Regions from separate parts of the Homo sapiens genome. Here all the other regions are linked to region 1. Evidence: promoter capture Hi-C in 16 types of primary human blood cells and fetal thymus (Javierre and others, 2016). All regions are on one chromosome and are shown on one strand. Each heading gives the region's core, a stretch centred on a gene start or on the middle of the fragment in contact. The rest is flanking DNA. Distances are from core to core; before and after follow the strand shown. Region 1 holds the start of EDC4 (enhancer of mRNA decapping 4). Region 2 overlaps NFATC3 (nuclear factor of activated T cells 3). Region 3 overlaps DUS2 (dihydrouridine synthase 2). Region 4 overlaps GFOD2 (Gfo/Idh/MocA-like oxidoreductase domain containing 2). Region 5 overlaps DUS2 (dihydrouridine synthase 2). Region 6 overlaps GFOD2 (Gfo/Idh/MocA-like oxidoreductase domain containing 2).

Region 1 (2,779 bases), core at 103-2,602:
TTCAGGCCCTCCGGGCTGAGTTGTCAGCAGTATCAAGGGAGGGGCCTGCTCTATCCCCAGAAGGATCAGGATCATATCCAGGATGCCCCACATACACCAAGCCAGGCAGAGGGCAGCTCAGCTCCTGTCCCATCTGCTTTGGATATCTTTACCCAAAGGCAGGTAACCCGAAGAGCCAGCCTCCACTGCCCACAGAGCCAGGCCCAGTTGTGTTGGAGTATAGGTCAGGAGCTGTGGAAGGAGGCAGTCTGTGAGGGACTCATGCTTTAGGAGTCCTCACCCCTCAGACTGCTGCAGGACATTGCCAGGCCTCTCTCCACTTCCTTCCTCAGCATACAGACTTCATGCTATCTTCCAATTCCGGGGAGTCTTAGCTATTAGGGCAGTTTCTGCTTCTCCATTTTGGGGACAAAGGCCTTGCCCAGTACAAATCTAGCCCCTTGTCCCACAGACTTCTGGATGGTATAAACCTAGTGGCAATGTAGCAACCATAGGCTAGAACCAAACCCAAGATTTGGGTCAGTGCCCTGTTAAGGGTTTTAGGATTGGTAAGGACACCACAGCTAAATCTGACATGTAAAAGGATACCCTTCCCCTGTCCCACTACGGGTGGAGGCTAAGGACCTCCTCAGATCCCACAGATTGCCTGGTGACATTGGGCACAGGGCTGGATGGTGTGCTGTTTGAGAGGACAGCATGCTCAGGAGATTTCAGTGGGAATGATCTCTAGGCTGATGTGTATTTGGGGAAGTGGGGGTGGGGAAGAGGTAGGTGCCTGCTGCCTCAAACCACCTTGTGTAAAATCTGCAATACGGCTTCTTCCATGTACCTGTGCCTGAACTGTCTGCAATAAAGAAGAATTTGTAAACTGTGGTTTCTTTCTTCCAACCTGAGGGTGCCAGGTGGGACAAGGGGATGCTGGGGGACAGTAGGGAACAATGACTGGTCATTGTAGTGGGATCATCTCCCCTGCTCTTGCAATTCCTGAGTTTTATGACCTCGAGGGTAGCCTCAGGCCTTGAGTTATTCCGACCCATTCCCAAAGGGAACCTGAGGCACCTGCCAATTCAGCATATTCTGGGGGTCTGAGGGACCTTAGCATGGGCGGCTAAGTTGACCCCGTCCCAGGACCATCGGAGTCCATGCTCTGGGAGTGGGCAGGGACCTGGCGCCTTCTGAGTCGAGTAGGGCTTTAGGTGGCCCAGTGCGTGGACGCTTACTTCAGCCCCGTGGGACTTTCCTGACCTCGCGGACACAGGGGCGGGGCCGCCGAGGGGGACTGGCTGCGGGAGGGGTTTAGGCTTCCGCCCCCAGCCCGGAACCTTTCTTCTCCGGCCCTGGCAGGTTCCGGGAGCCTCGGCTCGTGGGTGCCGGAAGTGGAGGCGGTTGGTGGGGTTGGCGGGGCTCAGCGACGCTGCGCGGGTGGCGGTTTGCGAACTGCGGGTGGACTGTGTAGTGACCGGCGTCCCGCTGTCTCGCCCCGTGGCGGGTGAGCGAGGGTGCGTGGTGCGCGGCGGCGGCGGAACGAACGCGGTGCGGGCGGGGCGCCCGCCGCAGGGCCCATGGCCTCCTGCGCGAGCATCGACATCGAGGACGCCACGCAGCACCTGCGGGACATCCTCAAGCTGGACCGGCCCGCGGGCGGTGAGCGGGGGTTGCGGGGGTGGGCCCCAGGCGAGCTGACAAAAGGGCGGCGCGCGTCTGAACCGCCATTGGGGCCCACAGCTCCCTTAGGACTAGCTCTGGATCCTCCCGGCGGGTAAGGGTGGACGGGGATTGACTGTGCCCCTCGAAGGGCGCAGACCCCTGGGTGTGACCCCTCCCTATCTTGTCCTCAGGCTGTTCTGCCTTGTCCTTCAGCGTCTCGGTTGAAGGTGAGGCGCCTTCTCTGAATCCGCTGGGGCCCTCTGGTTTCCTGGCCCCGAGGTCTCTAGTGTTCCTGGGACTGGCCTAGCTCCTCTTCCCTTTCTCCATGGTTCAGAGGCCTGGTCTGGGCTCCGTATATGGAATTCTGGGCCCAGGCTTAAGCGCGATGCTGAAGAGCTGCCGGTCCCCCTCCATAACTTGCCCTTCTCTCTGGAATAAAGACTCCAGGCCTCCCGTTCTGAAACTGATTTCCAGGAGGAAGGTGTCCAGTCTCAATTCCGTGTTCTTTCTGGGATGAAGGCAAATCACAGACCGCACCACCCTGACTGAATTATGCTACAAATATCTGCAAGCCCTAATTGGTTCCCATTCATTCATATTTCGCTTTGGCTCTTAATGATACCTCAGAACTAGTCTTGCCCCCAAAGATTCCCCAAGACACAGCTAACAGGGTTGTAATATACTGTTGTCATTGAAAGAAAGGAGTGTCTCGATACTGTGATGGGCGTGGGAAGGGTGGAGGCTGGTGAGTGCAGAGTGCAGGTCTGAGAGGGGAGACTGGGCTAGGTCTTGTAATGTGAACAGGGGCTTGGGTGTCAGGAAAGGCACCCAAGGCACCTATGGAGAAGCCACCTATTAGGAAGAGGAAATAGCACGTGTGCAGGCACTAGTTTACTGACAGGTTTAGGGATCTCTGAAGTGGCCGGTGATGATGGTGTGGGCGTACAGTGGAGAATTGTGTTTCCTCAGATCTTGTTCTTACACCTGCTGGGAGGCCCAGACTGGCTGCTTCTGGAAGCAGGCACTGGTGCTCACTAGGGGTGGATTCAACTAACCCCTACTTTCAGAAAATCCATCTGCTGCCTGAGACCACTCGGCCCTTTGTCCCAGGCCTGGAGTGTGTGCCCTCTTT
Region 2 (2,779 bases), core at 198-2,697, 240 kb after region 1:
CCGCCACTGTGTTGTGCTGTGGGGAATTCCTCTTCGTCCAAACCGCCAAGTTTCCCCAACACCAGCAAAGGAAAATGGCAGACTGGAGCCGCAGTGATGGCGACTGCCCCTTTCCGTGGGAACTTGGTAGTCTTAGGCAGTGTCCAGCCTGCTGCTGCTAGCCACAACCTGAGCAGGTTGCACAGCTCTGTGCTTGGGTCCCAAGGCCTTGGTGGCGTGGGCTCATGAGGGGATTTCCTGATCCATGGGATGTACAGATCTGTGGAAAAAGTCTGGTTTCCCGCGCAGGGTAGCACAGTTACTCACCACCTCCCTTGGCTGGGTGTGGGAGTTCGCCTTTGTGGCTACCAGGTCAGGTTGTCGCTCTACCCTGCTTTTCCTAGCTCTGTGTGGATCACACCAACCACCTAGTCAGTCCCAGTGAGAGAACCTGGATACCTCAGTTGACGGAGCAGGATTCACTGGCCGTTTTTGCTCCTCTTAGTGGGAGCCGCAGACTGGAGTGGCTTCTAATCAGCCATCTTGGCTCCTCCTGCCTAAACTAGTGTTTTCTTAACTTCTTTGCAAATGTTTTTTCTTGAAGTTGTTTCTTTCACACTATTCATGGAGGCTAATTGTTTAGTCACTTTAAACTCTGCATTGACTCTTCAATAAATAACAACTGAGCAGATGTTGGTAACATCTGGCAGCACATCAAGGGCCAAGGAAAAGCACTTTTTTTTTTTTTTTTTGAGACGGAGTCTTGCTTTGTTGCCAGGCTGGAGTGCTGTGGTGCAATCTTGGCTCACTGCAACCTCCGACTCCCTGGTTCAAATGATTCTCCTACCTCAGCCTCCCAAGTAGCTGGGATTACAGGCAAGTGCCACCACGCCCAGATAATTTTTGTATGTTTAGTAGAGACGGGGTTTCACCATGTTGGCCAGGATAGTCTCGAACTCCTGATCTCGTGATCCGCCTGCCTCTGCCTCCCAAAGTGCTGAGATTACAGGCGTCAGCCACCGCACCTGGCCGGAAAACCACTTTTTAAGGAAATCGTTTGTTTTATTTTGTAATTAACCTATTAATGTTGCTACCAATGTCCTCAGTTTTTCTACCAGTTGTTCTTGCTGAAAGGCTAATAGTCTTGTAAGTTTTTCTCTGAACATATTTCCGTGGTTTCTCCGGTGAAACACAATTTAAATAACTCACCATCAGTAAATGACTTTCTTTTTTTTTTTTTGAGACCAAGTCTCACTCTGTCACCGAGGCTGGAATGCAGTGGTGCAATCTCAGCTCACTGCAACCTCCGCCTCCCGGCTTCAAGTGATTCGCCTTGCCTCAGCCTCCCAAGTAGCTGGGATTACAAGCGCCTGCCACTATGCCTGGCTAAATTTTGTATTTTAGTAGAGATGAGGTTTTGCCATGTTGTCCAGGCTGGTCTCGAACTCCTGACCTTGTGATCCACCTGCCTCAGCTTCCCAAATTGCTGGGATTATAGGCATGAGCCGCTGCACCCGGCCCCAGTAAATGACTTTCTTTACTTTGCTAGCAAATGAGCCATTTTATTTTCTTTGTTTTTTGTTTTTGTTTTTTTTGAGAGACGGAGTCTTGCTCTTGTCACACAGGCTAGAGTGCAGTAGTAGCGCAATCTCGGCTTACTGCGACCTCCGCCTCCCGGGTTCAACTGATTCCCCTGCCCCAGCCTCCCAAGTAGCTGGGATTACAGGCACGCGGCACCATGCCCAGCTAATTTTTGTATTTTTAGTAGAGACAGGGTTTCACCATGTTGGCCAGGCTGGTCTTGGACTCCTGATCTCAAGTGATCTGCCCCCTTTGGCCTCCCAAAGTGCTGGAATTACAGGCGTGAGCCACCATACCTGGCCGATTGTTTTTTTTTGTTGTTGTTGTTTGTTTTAAATTTTTTTTCTTTTCCTGTGAGTTGGGAGTATTATGATGAATGCATTACTGTGGTAATGCATATATATGGCCATAATGTTATTGCACATCTAATTTGATAACAGTATAACCACACTCCACTGTGCTTTAAAAGGGCAACATTCAAAGTCTACTTTTCTTTTTGTGTTATGCACTAGTAAAAATTTTTTTAAAGTCACAGTATATACGTATGCATTGCACTCATTAGAACTTTGTCACTGCAATTTGTGTCCATCAAGCAGCAATGTGAAGGAATAGGGGTAGTACATGTGGTCCCTTTGACAGTTACTCAGTTCTACCCTTGTGTGAAAATAACCATAGATAGTATATAAATGAATGAGCATGGTTGTGTTTCAGTAAAACGTTATTTATGGATACCAGAATTTGAATCATAACTTTTTTTTGTCATGACACAGTTAAAAACAATTTTTTGAAACCATTTAAAACCATTAGTTTGTAGGCTATAGAAAGACAAACTATTATCTGTAGGCTTTCTATAGCCTACAAACTAATGATTTTAAATGTGGCCTACCACTTGTTGGTGGGCCAGACTTGGCACATGGACTGTATTTTGCCAACCTCTGCTTCATACTATACATAAAAACATTCATAAGACAACTTGGGTTGTCCAGATTACTGTATGCTTGCATGAGTCCCTCTGGTGGTTGAAGGAACATGGAACAAGTAATTCTTGAGATGGTGAAATTTCTGAAGCACCTTGAATTTGAGAATTCTAGACTTGGAAATCTGGACTTAGGACTGTTCGTCATAGTTAGATTGTAGTAGCTGCTTATATCATTTCCAGAGGTTGGACACTTGGGAAAAAGATAAAGCAGCATTCCCACAAATTTTGTGTGCAGGTCTC
Region 3 (2,779 bases), core at 134-2,633, 200 kb after region 1:
GCTGGCAAGTCTGGCCAAGAAGACGTGCTGAACAGTGCTGAGCTTGCTCACTGGGTGAAAGGTGATATTATCATTCCTGCTGAGCCATCTCTTGGCAGCTCCTCAAGAGGGTGTGCTATCACAGAGAAAGGGAGCGGCTTTCAAGCATAGGCAGGGCTGCTTCTGGTCCAGCCAGGTGCCTTCTTCCCAGACAAGCTGAGTCAAGGACTTGCCACCAGCCGGGGCGCCCCGACTTACTTCCCACTTTGTCCTGAGCGTGCCGTGGCACTTTCCCAGCCACTGAAGTCATAGGCCCACGTGGAGTTACTAGAGCAGCATAGGGGGTGGGGGATGGGAGGGTGTCCTGGAGGGCTGGGGAAGGCCACCTTCACCCAATACTGCTCTCCTGCCCTACCTCTAGCCAGCCGACTTCCACTGGGTGTCCCAGGCAGTCAGTCATCTTGCCTCCCTGAGCCTTCATTTCACGGTCTGTGGAGTGATGGTGACAGTTGCACCTCACACTTGTATAGATAAATGTAGTCATGAGTAACCCATGTGAACTAAATGATGCTGTGTTTTACCCACGTAGGGGGAAGTTAGAGGCTATTCAAGATGTGGGAAGGGAAGGTGCCCATTCTGGTTAGAAGGAATAGAAGAATCTCACCCCTTTCCTGGCACTGGACCTGCCATGCCAGAATTTGGTGTGTTTCCCCTCCCTTCCCTGGAAGATACTTGGCAGTAGGTCCTCTGTGGTGGCTGAAGCAGGAAGGGGCTCCCGCACTTCGAGACCTCAGTCAGGCTGTCCAGGAGAATGTGTTTCTGACCGTGGTCCTTGGCTGTGACCCTCAAGCTTTGTACCACTAGCTGGAAGAGTAGATGACCAAGGTCGAAGTGGCTTTTTAATTTATTTTTATTTTTATTTTTAATTTTAGATAGGGTCTCAGTCTGTTGCCCAGGCTGGAGTGCAGTGGCATGATCATAGCTCACTACAGCCACAACTCCTGGGTGCAAGCAATCCTCTTGCCTTAGCCTCCCTAGTAGCTATGGCTACAGGTGTGTGCCAACATGCCTGGCTAATTTTCTTTTTCTTTTTTTTTTTTTTTTTGAGACAGAGTTTTGCTGTTGTCGCCCAGGCTGGAGTGCAGTGGCACGATCTTGGCTCACCGCAACCTTCGCCTCCAGGGTTCAAGCGATTCTCTTGCCTCAGCCTCCCGAGTAGCTGGGATTACAGGCACCCGCCACCACGCCCAGCTAATTTTGTATTTTTAGTAGAGACGGGGCTTCACCATGTTGGTCAGGCTGGTCTTGAACTCCTGACCTCAGGTGATCCGCCCGCCTTGGCCTCCCAAGGTGCTGTGATTACAGGCGTGAGCCACCGTGCCCAGCCGATAATTTTCTTTTTTTTAATTTTTGTAGAGTTGAGTCTTACGTTGCCCAGGCTGCTCTTGAACTCCTAGCCTCAAGCAGTCCTCCTGCATTGGCCTCTCAGAGTGCTGGGATTACAGATGTGAGCCACTGCTCCTGGCCAGTGGTGGTTCTTCTTATGGGGGTCACATTGCCTTGGCTACACATACATCTCTGGTGCCTTCTTGGAGCTCCTTTCCCTGCCATCAGAGCATAGCCCAGGCCTTAGAGCCTGCCTGGGCATCAGGCAAGTCATTTCTTTTCTCAGGCGGTGCAGTATGACAACCACTACACCAACACCAAGTACTGCTTGTGCCAGATGCTACGAGAACAGCTGGAGTCGCCCCAGGGAAGGTTGCTCCATGCTGCCCAGTCTTCCCGGGAAATTTGGTAAGAGGCACAATAAGATGTCCATCTGTCCTTGTACGCATTGCCCAAGTTTGACTTTGAGCCCTAAGCTGACTCCACCAGGGGACCAGGGACACAGCTTCTGGATGTAGATGTAGAGGAGTGGAGTGATGGTACAGCTTTGCCTCCCAGGAGGGGATTCTTTGAAAGCTTTGAAACGTCCCATCCCTGGACGGATCAGCAGAGCTCTGGGAACTAGGGTACTAGAAGGATAGAGGAATGCAAAGGAAGGGGATTTTCCATAAATGGGATAGTCACAGGCCAGGCCCCCAGGAACCAGTGGTCAGGAGAATTGGGCTGTAGCATGGAGCCTCTACCTTGAGCCTGCACTCACATCCATCACCCTGCAGTTTGAGAGACCACCTGTTGATTCTCTAGATCAGGTGCAGCTCTAGCTCAGATGGTTGACAGTTGAGGCCCTTCACAAGCTGGCCTAGCCACTGCCCCCACAGCTCCCTGTCTACCTGTCTGCTTCCAGAACTCCACACCTGTGCTTGTAATGGGTCGTCTGCCTGGAAGGCTCTCTCCCTCTCACGTGAGCTATCTGTAGCCTCCCTCTTACATAGATGCCTTTCTGAACCACTTTTGCCATTGGGGATCTATCTTCGTTTGAGTCTTCCAGCCTTCAAGATGTTTCCTAGAAGGGAAAAACCTTTGCCAGAGCCCTCTTCCCACCCTTGGCTTATGGCATTGGTTCAGTCCCTACCCCACATAACTCTGTAGCTCTGGGTGGTGCCTCAGTGTCAGCTGAGACCCATGTATAACTGCCTGTGGCTGGGCGGGAAGTGGGGAACCACTTAGTGGTCAGGCCTCTGTCTCTTCCTCCCATGGGCCCATGTGCTTGATCAGCATTGGTTAACTCAGTCACGGCTGGCTGGGGATACCATCTGTGTGCTTCCCCTCAGGAGAGAGGCTGCAGGTGGTGGGGGTGACCTTTACAACCTTTGCCACCCAGCCCAGCCTCCCTCCAGTGTCCACGCTTGGGTTC
Region 4 (2,779 bases), core at 77-2,576, 180 kb before region 1:
TGAAAGGATACATACTAAATACATTTACAGGGGATAGGGAAACCAGAGTAGAGAAAGGGGATAAAGGGGAATAATTTAAAAAAAAAAAAAAAGGCCGGGCACGGTGGCTCATGCCTGTAATCTCAGCTCTTTGGGAGGCTGAGGAGGGCGAATCACGAGGTCAGGAGATTGAGACCATCCTGGCTAACATGGTAAAACCCCGTCTCTACTAAAAATACAAAAACAAAATTATCCAGGCGTGATGGTGGGCACCTGCAGTCCCAGCTACTCGGGAGGCTGAGGCGGGAGAATGGCGTGAACCCAGGAGGCAGAGCTTGCAGTGAGCCGAGATTGCGCCACTGCACTCCAGCCTGGGCGACAGATTGAGACTCTGTCTCAAAAACAAAAACAAAAAAAAAAGGAAAATGTGGTTCTAAAAGGAATCCTTTCTCACTTTTTAAATAAAAAGCTTGCATTTCAAACACAAAGTGACAGATATATGTACCTCTGGTCCTACTAATGGGACACCATCACAAGCTCCCTGATCTAGCCAAATCCAGGGAGTAGCACTGCATCTGCATATTTAGCCAGGACCACTTATAATTCAGACAAAGAACCTTATTTCAAATTAGCCACCACACCTGGCTTTTTGGGTTTTTTTTTTTTTGACACAGTCTCACTCTGTCACCCAGGCTGGAGTCCAGTGGTGCCATCTCGACTCACTGCAACCTCCGCCTCCTGGGTTCAAGTAAGTGGCTGGGACTATAGGTGCGTGTCATCACGCCCTGCTAATCATACCTGGCTAATTTTTTGTGTTTTTTGTAGAGACAGGGTTCCATCATGTTGCCCAAGCTGGTCTCAAACTCCTGGGCTCAAGCAATCCTCCTGCCTTGGCCTCCCAAATTGCTGGGATTACAGGCATGAGCCATGGTCCCTGGCTAGAATCTTTTTTGGGAAGTGGAAAAATGTACATTACAGAATGTACCATTTTAAACCATTTTTAGGTGTACAGTTCAGTGCACTAATACATTCGTATTGTGCAACCATCACCAACATCCACCTCCAGGACTTCATCATCATTCCATACTGAAACTCTGTACCCAGCCAAAATTAACCATTTTAAAGTGAACAATTCAGTGGCCGCTGGGTGCAATGCCTCATGCCTGTAATCCCAGCACTTTGGGAGGCTGAGGTGGGAGGATTACTTGTGCCCAGGAGTTTCAGGCTATAGTGGGTTATGATCATGCCATTGCACTCCAGCCTGGGTGACAGAGCAACAGAAAGACTCTGTCTCAAAAACAAAAAACAAACAAACAAACAAAAAAACCAACCCCCATAATCCAGTGGCATTTAGGACATACTTTTTTTTTTTTAAGACAGAGTCTTGCTCTATCACCCAGGCTGGAATGCAGTGGTGCAATCTTGGCTCACTGCAACTTCCACCTCCCGAGCTCTGAGGCTGAGGCGATTCTCCTGCCTCAGCCTCCTGACTGGCTGGGATTACAGGCACACGCCATCACACCTGGCTAATTTTTTTGTATTTTTAGTAGAGACAGGGTTTCACCATGTTCGCCAGGCTGGTCTCAAACTCCTGACCTCAGGTGATCCGCTCGCCTGGGCCTCCAGAAGTGCTGGGATTACAGGCATGAGCCACTGAGCCTGGCCTAATTTTTTATTTTTTGTAGAGATGGGGTCTCACTGTGTTACCTAGGCTGGTCTCAAACTCTGGCCTCAAACTCCTGGCCTCAAGCGATTCTCTCAGCTCAGCCTCCCAAGGTGGTGGGATTATAAGCGTGACCCACTGAGCCTGGCTTTTTAATAAAAAAGTTTTTTTTAATTTTATTTTAATATAGAGGCAGCATCTTACTATGTTGCCCAGGCTGGTCTTAAATTCCTGGCTTCAAGTGATCCTCCCACCTCGGCCACCCAAAGCACTGGGATTATAGGCATGAGACACCACGGCTGGAGAAATTGTTTTCTCAACTTCATTTTCAAGCCCAGCATCTCTTTTGCTCCTACTGTAGACACAAGTGTACTGGACTAAGAAAATGTCTATAGTAGGGGATGGTTTGTCAGCATAGCCCAGTATAACATCCTGTACTGCTCGATTCTATCTGAAGTACACCTGTTCCTTTGTGAACCACTAAATTACACATGACTTGGGCTGCCTCTAACTCCAGATCCCTGCCAATTTCGTGCCTCTTGTCTCCACTCTCTGTGACTGTGAAGCTTGGCTTGCCTCCTGTACTCTCACTGGGGTTGTTTTATTTTAACCAGCTTTCATTCTTTCTGATGGTAAACTGTCTGTGGCCACTCAGTCACCTTGCTTTCCTTTTCTACTTTCTCCATCTCTCTCTTTTTTTTTTTTTTTTTTTTTTTGAGACGGAGTCTCACTCTGTCGCCTAGGCTGGAGCGTAATGGTGCAATCTCGGCTCACTGCAACCTTTGCCGCTCCGGTTCAAGCGATTCTCCTTGCCTCAGCTACTACCTCAGTAGCTGGGGTTACAGGCACACGCCACCATACCCAGCTAATCTTTGTATTTTTAGTAGAGACAAGGTTTTACCATGTTGGCCAGGCTGGTCTCGAACTCCTGACCTCAGGTGATCCACCCGCCTTGACCTCCCAAAGTGCTGGGATTACAGGCATGAGCCACTGAGCCCAGCCACCATCTCTCTCTTTTCTCTTTGCTAATTCTGCCCCTACAGGCTTCTCTACTAGTTTTCTTAGAAAACAGGTCAAGCACACAGTTATCTTCTACAATTTTCATGTCCTGGACTCCCTTCGGCTATTTGGTCACTG
Region 5 (2,779 bases), core at 110-2,609, 160 kb after region 1:
TTTTCACCTTACAGTGAAGAAGGCATATTGACAGATAGTTGCTCTTCTATTAATAGTTGCCAGGATAGCTCCATGCCAGGACAGGAATGAGCTCAGAGATGCCTTTACCCTGTTTTGGGAGATGTTGGTCAGAGAAGGCTTCCAGGAGGAGGTGATGAGGTTCTAAAAGTCTACAGGGAGTCAGCCAGGTGGAAGAATAGGGACGTGGCCCCTGGGCAGGGACAGCTTGTTCAGAGATCCCATACTGAGAGAGAGCAGGCCAGGCTGGGGAACTAGAAATATTTAAGAATAGCTGAAGCTTAGCATGGGGGAGTTCTGAGGGCAGGAGGCAGGTGATGAAAGAGGCTTCTATGGAAGGTGGAGACCAGACCTTATATTTACTGTGTTAAAGAGTGTAGACTTAATTTTACAGGCAGTAGGGAAGGCGTCCAGAAATGGAACTATCATGTTTTGCGTATCATATCTTTGCGTTTGGAAAGAGCCCTTTGGCTGGAAGGAGCATGGATTGGAAGTGATAAGCCTGGAGGCAGAGAGACTGGTTTGGAGACTGTTGTCATGGTTCAGTTGATAGATGATGGCAGTTGTAGAGCTGAGAAGCTCTTTGAGGTTAAGAGCTTAGTGCTTTCCGTGTCTTTATACCTCACACGCTGCCTTGATCTTAAAAGAGCTAGCAGATGTTTGTCGATATAACAACATAATAATAGACGTTAGAGGCCAGGCGCGGTGGCTCACACCTGTAATCCCAGCACTTTGGGAGGCCAAGGCGGGTGAATCACGAAGTCAGGAGTTTGAGACCAGTCTGGCCAACATGGTGAAACCCCATCCCTACTAAAAAAAAATACAAAAAATTAGCTGGGCGTGGTGGTGGGCACCTGTAATCCCAGCTACTCGAGAGGCTGAGGCAAGAGAATTGCTTGAACCCGGGAGGCGGAGGTTGCAGTGAGCTGAGATCACGCCACTGCACTCCATCCTGGGAGACAGTAGGAGACTCCGTCTCAAAACAAACAAACAAACAAAAAATAGAGTGTTGAAACCGTGAAAGCATGATGAGAGTGGCTAACATTTATTAAGCCTTTACTATGTGCTGAGAACTGTGGTACACCATGGAATTCACTCTTCACAGCATTTCCTTTGACTCCCATAGTGGAGCCTCATATTCCACAAGGAGAAGCTGAGGCTCAGCTGGGTTAATTAATGTGCCCGAGGCACAGCTGGGATTCAAGTGAAGGTCTGTCCAATTCCAGAGCTCAGGATCTTAACTATGAAATGCTGTATCAGGGCTGGGCACAGTGGGTCACGCCTGATTCCAGCACTTCAGAAGGTTAGGCAGGAGGATCGCTAGAGGCCAGGAGTTGGAGACTAGCCTGAGCAACATAGCAAGACTGTATCGCTACAGAAAAATTTAAACACAAAATTAGCTAGATGTGGTGGAACATGCCTGTAGTCCCAGTTACTCCGGATGCTGAGATGGGAGGATCACTAGAGCCCAGGAGTTTGGGACTGCAGTGAGCCATGATTGTGCCGCTGCACTCCAGCCTGGGCAACACAGCAAGGTCCCATCTCTAAAAAAAAAAAGCTATATCACCTCTTTCTCCTCAAATCTAACAAATCATTTTTACTTTTTGTCATGTGCATGTATTTTGTTTTCTGTTTTTAATTTTTGTTTTTAATTTTTATTTTTAATAGAGATGGGGTCTTACTATGTTGCCCTGACTGGTCTTGAACTCTTGGGCTCAAATGATCCTCTTGCCTCAACCTCCCAGTGTTAGGATTACAGGTGTGAGCTACCACACCTGGTGTATTTACACTTTTTTTATTTTTTTGAGGCAGAGTCTTGCTCCAATTTCCAGGCTGGAGTGCAGTGATACGATCTTGGCTCACTGCAGCCTCCACCTCACAAGTTCAAGTGATTCTCCTGCCTCAGCCCCCCAAGTAGGTGGGATAACAGGCCTGCACCACCATACCCGGCTAATTTTTGTATTTTTTGGTATAGATGGGGTTTGCCATGTTGCCCAGGCTGGTCTTGAACTACTGAGCTCAGGTAATCTGCCCACCTTGGCCTCCCAAAGTGTTGGGATTATAGGCATGAGCCACTGGACCCAGCCACATGTTCAGATTAGGAAATAAGATAATTCTGTAAATACTTGATTCTAGTTGACTTTCCAAATTTGAATTTTAGAGCTGGATGCAGTGGCTCACGCCTGTAATCCCAACACTTTGGGAGGCTGAGGCAGGTGGAGTACCTAGGACCACAGGTGTGTACCACCATGCCCCGCTAATTTTTTGTAGAGGTGGTGTCTTATTATGTTGCCTGGGCTGGTCTTGAACTCCTGGCCTCAAACGATCCTCCCGCCTCAGCCTCCCAAAGTGCTGGGATTACAGGTGTGAGCCACCATGCCTGGCCAGAAATTGCTTTTTAAGCAAGCTTTGTCTTTGGGGAAAATTGACAGGGAAGGGAATGGTAAAGTTTGTTTATACTCATTATTTTTCCTGAATAGTGTTATGTTCAATCTGAAAGCACTATAATTAATGGGATTATGAAAGTTGCAGATACCAGGATGAAACCGCTTTTGTCAAAATAGGACAAGGAAGGTGTGAAGTAGAGGAAGCTCATGCTTACATGTCTGAGATAAGAACTGTTTCCAAGGATTTTCTAAAAACCCCACCGGAGGCCAGGAGTGGTGACTCACATCTGCAATCCCAGCACTTTGGGAGGCTGAGGCGGGTGGATCACTTGAGGTCAGGAGTTCAAGACGAGTCTGGCCAACATGGTGAAACC
Region 6 (2,779 bases), core at 95-2,594, 160 kb before region 1:
GCTATATCCCTAGTGCCTAAAACAAGGTCTGACATGTAGTTGGTGCTAAATATTTGCTGAAAGAATGAAAGATTTCAGACCTAGTTCCTGCACAGTCAATAAACTAAGACATATATACTGAGCCCATCAAAACCATACTATAGAAAACCATATATACTGAGCTCACCAAAACCATCAGTAGGCTCTTGCAATGTTTAAAAATGTAATAAAGAGCTCCCTCTCCCTCTCCCTCTCCCCCTCCCCCTCCCCCTCCCCCTCTCCCTCTCCCTCCACGGTCTCCCTCTGATGCCGAGCCAAGGCTGGACGGTACTGCTGCCATCTCGGCTCACTGCAACCTCCCTGCCTGATTCTCCTGCCTCAGCCTGCCGAGTGCCTGCGATTGCAGGCGCGCACCGCCACGCCTGACTGGTTTTCGTTTTTTTTTTGGTGGAGACGGGGTTTCGCTGTGTTGGCCGGGCTGGTCTCCAGCTCCTAGCCGCGAGTGATCCGCCAGCCTCGGCCTCCCGAGGTGCCGGGATTGCAGATGGAGTCTCGTTCACTCAGTGCTCAATGGTGCCCAGGCTGGAGTGCAGTGGCGTGATCTCGGCTCGCTGCAACCACCTCCCAGCCGCCTGCCTTGGCCTCCCGGAGAGCCGAGATTGCAGCCTCTGCCCGGCCGCCACCCCGTCTGGGAAGTGAGGAGCGTCTCTGCTTGGCCACCCATCGTCTGGGATGTGAGGAGCCCCTCTGCCTGGCTGCCCAGTCTGGAAAGTGAGGAGCGTCTCTGCCCGGCCGCCATCCCATCTGGGAAGCGAGGAGCGCCTCTTCCCCGCCGCCATCCCATCTAGGAAGTGAGGAGCGTCTCTGCCCGGCCGCCCATCGTCTGAGATGTGGGGAGCACCTCTGCCCCGCCGCCCTGTCTGGGATGTGAGGAGCGCCTCTGCTGGGCGCTCAAGTTCAAGTGATTTTCCTGCCTCAGCCTCCTGAGTAGCTGGGACTACAGGCATGCACCACCACACCCAGCTAATTTTTTTTATTTTTTATAGAGACAGGGTTTCGCCATCTTGGTCAGGCTGGTCTTGAACTCCTGGCCTCAAGTGATCCGCCCACCTCGGCCTCCGAAAGTACTGGGATTACAGGCGTGAGCCGCCACACTGGCCAGACATAAGCATCTTTCATGTTATCATAAATAGTTTTATGGGTTACATAACAGGTATGTCATTGTGAAAGTGGAAAGACAAATTCAAATTGTTTTTCCTCTGCTTTCACACCACAATAATCAACACAGAAGACCAAATGTGTGGGGGTTTCTCCCCACACACCAAGCAAGCAAGCAATTCTGCAGTCAACACCTGCTGGTGTCCTTCAATTCAATTCTGACGATATCTACCTGGAGAATCGCATCAGATCCCCCAGGTAGAGGGCTCAGTCCCACAGACTTCCCCTTCCCGACTTCCAATGCCATCAAAAGCCCCAGGTTGTTTCAACTGTGCCTCTGCCTGATGGGCTACAGACTGGAGATCCTATGACTCCCTCCTTCAGATCAACTAATTTGCTAGAGCAGCTCACAGAACTCTGGGAAACACTTACTTATATTTACTGGTTTATTATAAAGAATATTACAAAGGATAGAGATGAAGAAGGTGCATAGGGCAAGGTATGGGGGAAGGGGCTTGGAGCTTTCATGCCCTCCCTGTGTTTATGGAGGCTTCATTAACTAGGCATGATTGATTAAACCACTGGCCATTGACGATCAACTTAACCTTCAGTCCCACTCTCCTCCCCAGAGGTTGCAGAGTGGGGCTGAAAGTCACAACCCTCTAATCATGCTTTGATGTTTCCTATGACCAGTCCCCAGCCTGAAACTACCCAGGAGCTGCCAGCCACCAGTTAACTCATTAGCATACAAAAAACCATCACTCAGGAGATTCCAGGGATTTGGTTGGTGCAAAAGCAACTGCGGTTTTTGCCATTACTTTGCGGCAAAATCTGCAATTGCTTTTGCACCAACCTATTGAAATTGCATGCCAGGAAACAGAGACAGAAGACCAAATATGTATTTCACAATATCACAGCCACTGACCGTATGAACTAGCTTTTCATTCTCTAGTGTTACACATTTATGACATTTTCATTTTGCTTCCTGTTATACAGGTTAAGAAATTATGGTCCAGAGGCCAGGCAGGGTCACTCCCAACTGTAATCCCAGCACTTTGGGAGGCTGAGGTGAGCCGATCACTGAGGCCAGGAGTTCAAGACCAGCCTGGCCAACATGACGAAACCCCATCTCTACTAAAAATACAAAAATTAGCCAGGCATGAAGGCGCACACCTGTAATCCCAGCTACTCGGGAGGCTGAGGCACAAGAATCGCTTGAACCCAGAAGTGGACATTGCAGTGAGCCGGGATTGTGCCACTACACTCCAGCCTGGGAGATAGAAACACTGTCTCAAAAAAAAAAAAAAAAAAAAATTACGATCCAGAAATTACACGATTTGCCTAAGGTTATCATCCTAAGTAAAATACAATTATGAAAGTAAATAATAAAGATTTTGAGGTTATAAAGTGATACAGTAAAATCTCAAAGCCAAGTAGAAGTGTTTTGGGTTCTATTTTGGGGTTATCTATTCTCATGAGAAATTGAGAGCTGACAATTTGAGAGTAGCACAGTTATCCCAGGCCAGAAAGGAAGACCACACTAAGTACTCAGTTCCCATTTTTCACAGTCTTCATTCCAAATCCTTGATTATAGAGGACTGATAGAAATCTTTACAGAAGCTCTTGGGAATGACTTAGAAAG

Evidence for each region. The method cuts DNA at HindIII sites, captures the fragments that hold promoters and counts their contacts. A CHiCAGO score of 5 or more calls a contact.
Region 2: a fragment that was not itself captured here is called in contact with the fragment with the promoter of EDC4 in region 1 in 1 of 17 cell types (neutrophils); the score reaches 5.6 in neutrophils.
Region 3: a fragment that was not itself captured here is called in contact with the fragment with the promoter of EDC4 in region 1 in 9 of 17 cell types (M1 macrophages, naive B cells, neutrophils and 6 more); the score reaches 6.8 in M1 macrophages.
Region 4: a fragment that was not itself captured here is called in contact with the fragment with the promoter of EDC4 in region 1 in 1 of 17 cell types (megakaryocytes); the score reaches 5.0 in megakaryocytes.
Region 5: a fragment that was not itself captured here is called in contact with the fragment with the promoter of EDC4 in region 1 in 4 of 17 cell types (naive B cells, naive CD4 T cells, naive CD8 T cells and 1 more); the score reaches 5.7 in naive B cells.
Region 6: a fragment that was not itself captured here is called in contact with the fragment with the promoter of EDC4 in region 1 in 1 of 17 cell types (erythroblasts); the score reaches 5.4 in erythroblasts.

Annotation. Positions count from the first base shown.
Region 1 is chr16:67,871,700-67,874,478 of GRCh38, forward strand. EDC4 (enhancer of mRNA decapping 4) reads left to right here and starts at 1,353. Exons shown (of 29, transcript NM_014329.5): 1 at 1,353-1,644. The coding sequence starts at 1,563. It overlaps NUTF2 (nuclear transport factor 2), which reads left to right. Exons shown (of 5, transcript NM_005796.3): 5 at 1-868. RefSeq lists a silencer at 1,466-1,675 and an enhancer at 1,569-2,069. The HindIII fragment of the contact is 5,556 bases long and covers 1-2,779 here.
Region 2 is chr16:68,113,863-68,116,641 of GRCh38, forward strand. The region is part of intron 1 of NFATC3 (nuclear factor of activated T cells 3); the gene reads left to right. Among named protein-coding and RNA genes, the nearest start is that of NFATC3, 30 kb to the left of the region's middle. The HindIII fragment of the contact is 6,857 bases long and covers 1-2,779 here.
Region 3 is chr16:68,072,383-68,075,161 of GRCh38, forward strand. It overlaps DUS2 (dihydrouridine synthase 2), which reads left to right. Exons shown (of 17, transcript NM_017803.5): 13 at 1,652-1,773. Among named protein-coding and RNA genes, the nearest start is that of NFATC3, 12 kb to the right of the region's middle. The HindIII fragment of the contact is 1,112 bases long and covers 828-1,939 here.
Region 4 is chr16:67,692,653-67,695,431 of GRCh38, forward strand. The region is part of intron 1 of GFOD2 (Gfo/Idh/MocA-like oxidoreductase domain containing 2); the gene reads right to left. Among named protein-coding and RNA genes, the nearest start is that of GFOD2, 25 kb to the right of the region's middle. The HindIII fragment of the contact is 1,760 bases long and covers 447-2,206 here.
Region 5 is chr16:68,027,642-68,030,420 of GRCh38, forward strand. The region is part of intron 2 of DUS2 (dihydrouridine synthase 2); the gene reads left to right. Among named protein-coding and RNA genes, the nearest start is that of DUS2, 5.7 kb to the left of the region's middle. The HindIII fragment of the contact is 2,127 bases long and covers 297-2,423 here.
Region 6 is chr16:67,712,044-67,714,822 of GRCh38, forward strand. The region is part of intron 1 of GFOD2 (Gfo/Idh/MocA-like oxidoreductase domain containing 2); the gene reads right to left. Among named protein-coding and RNA genes, the nearest start is that of GFOD2, 5.9 kb to the right of the region's middle. The HindIII fragment of the contact is 4,334 bases long and covers 1-2,779 here.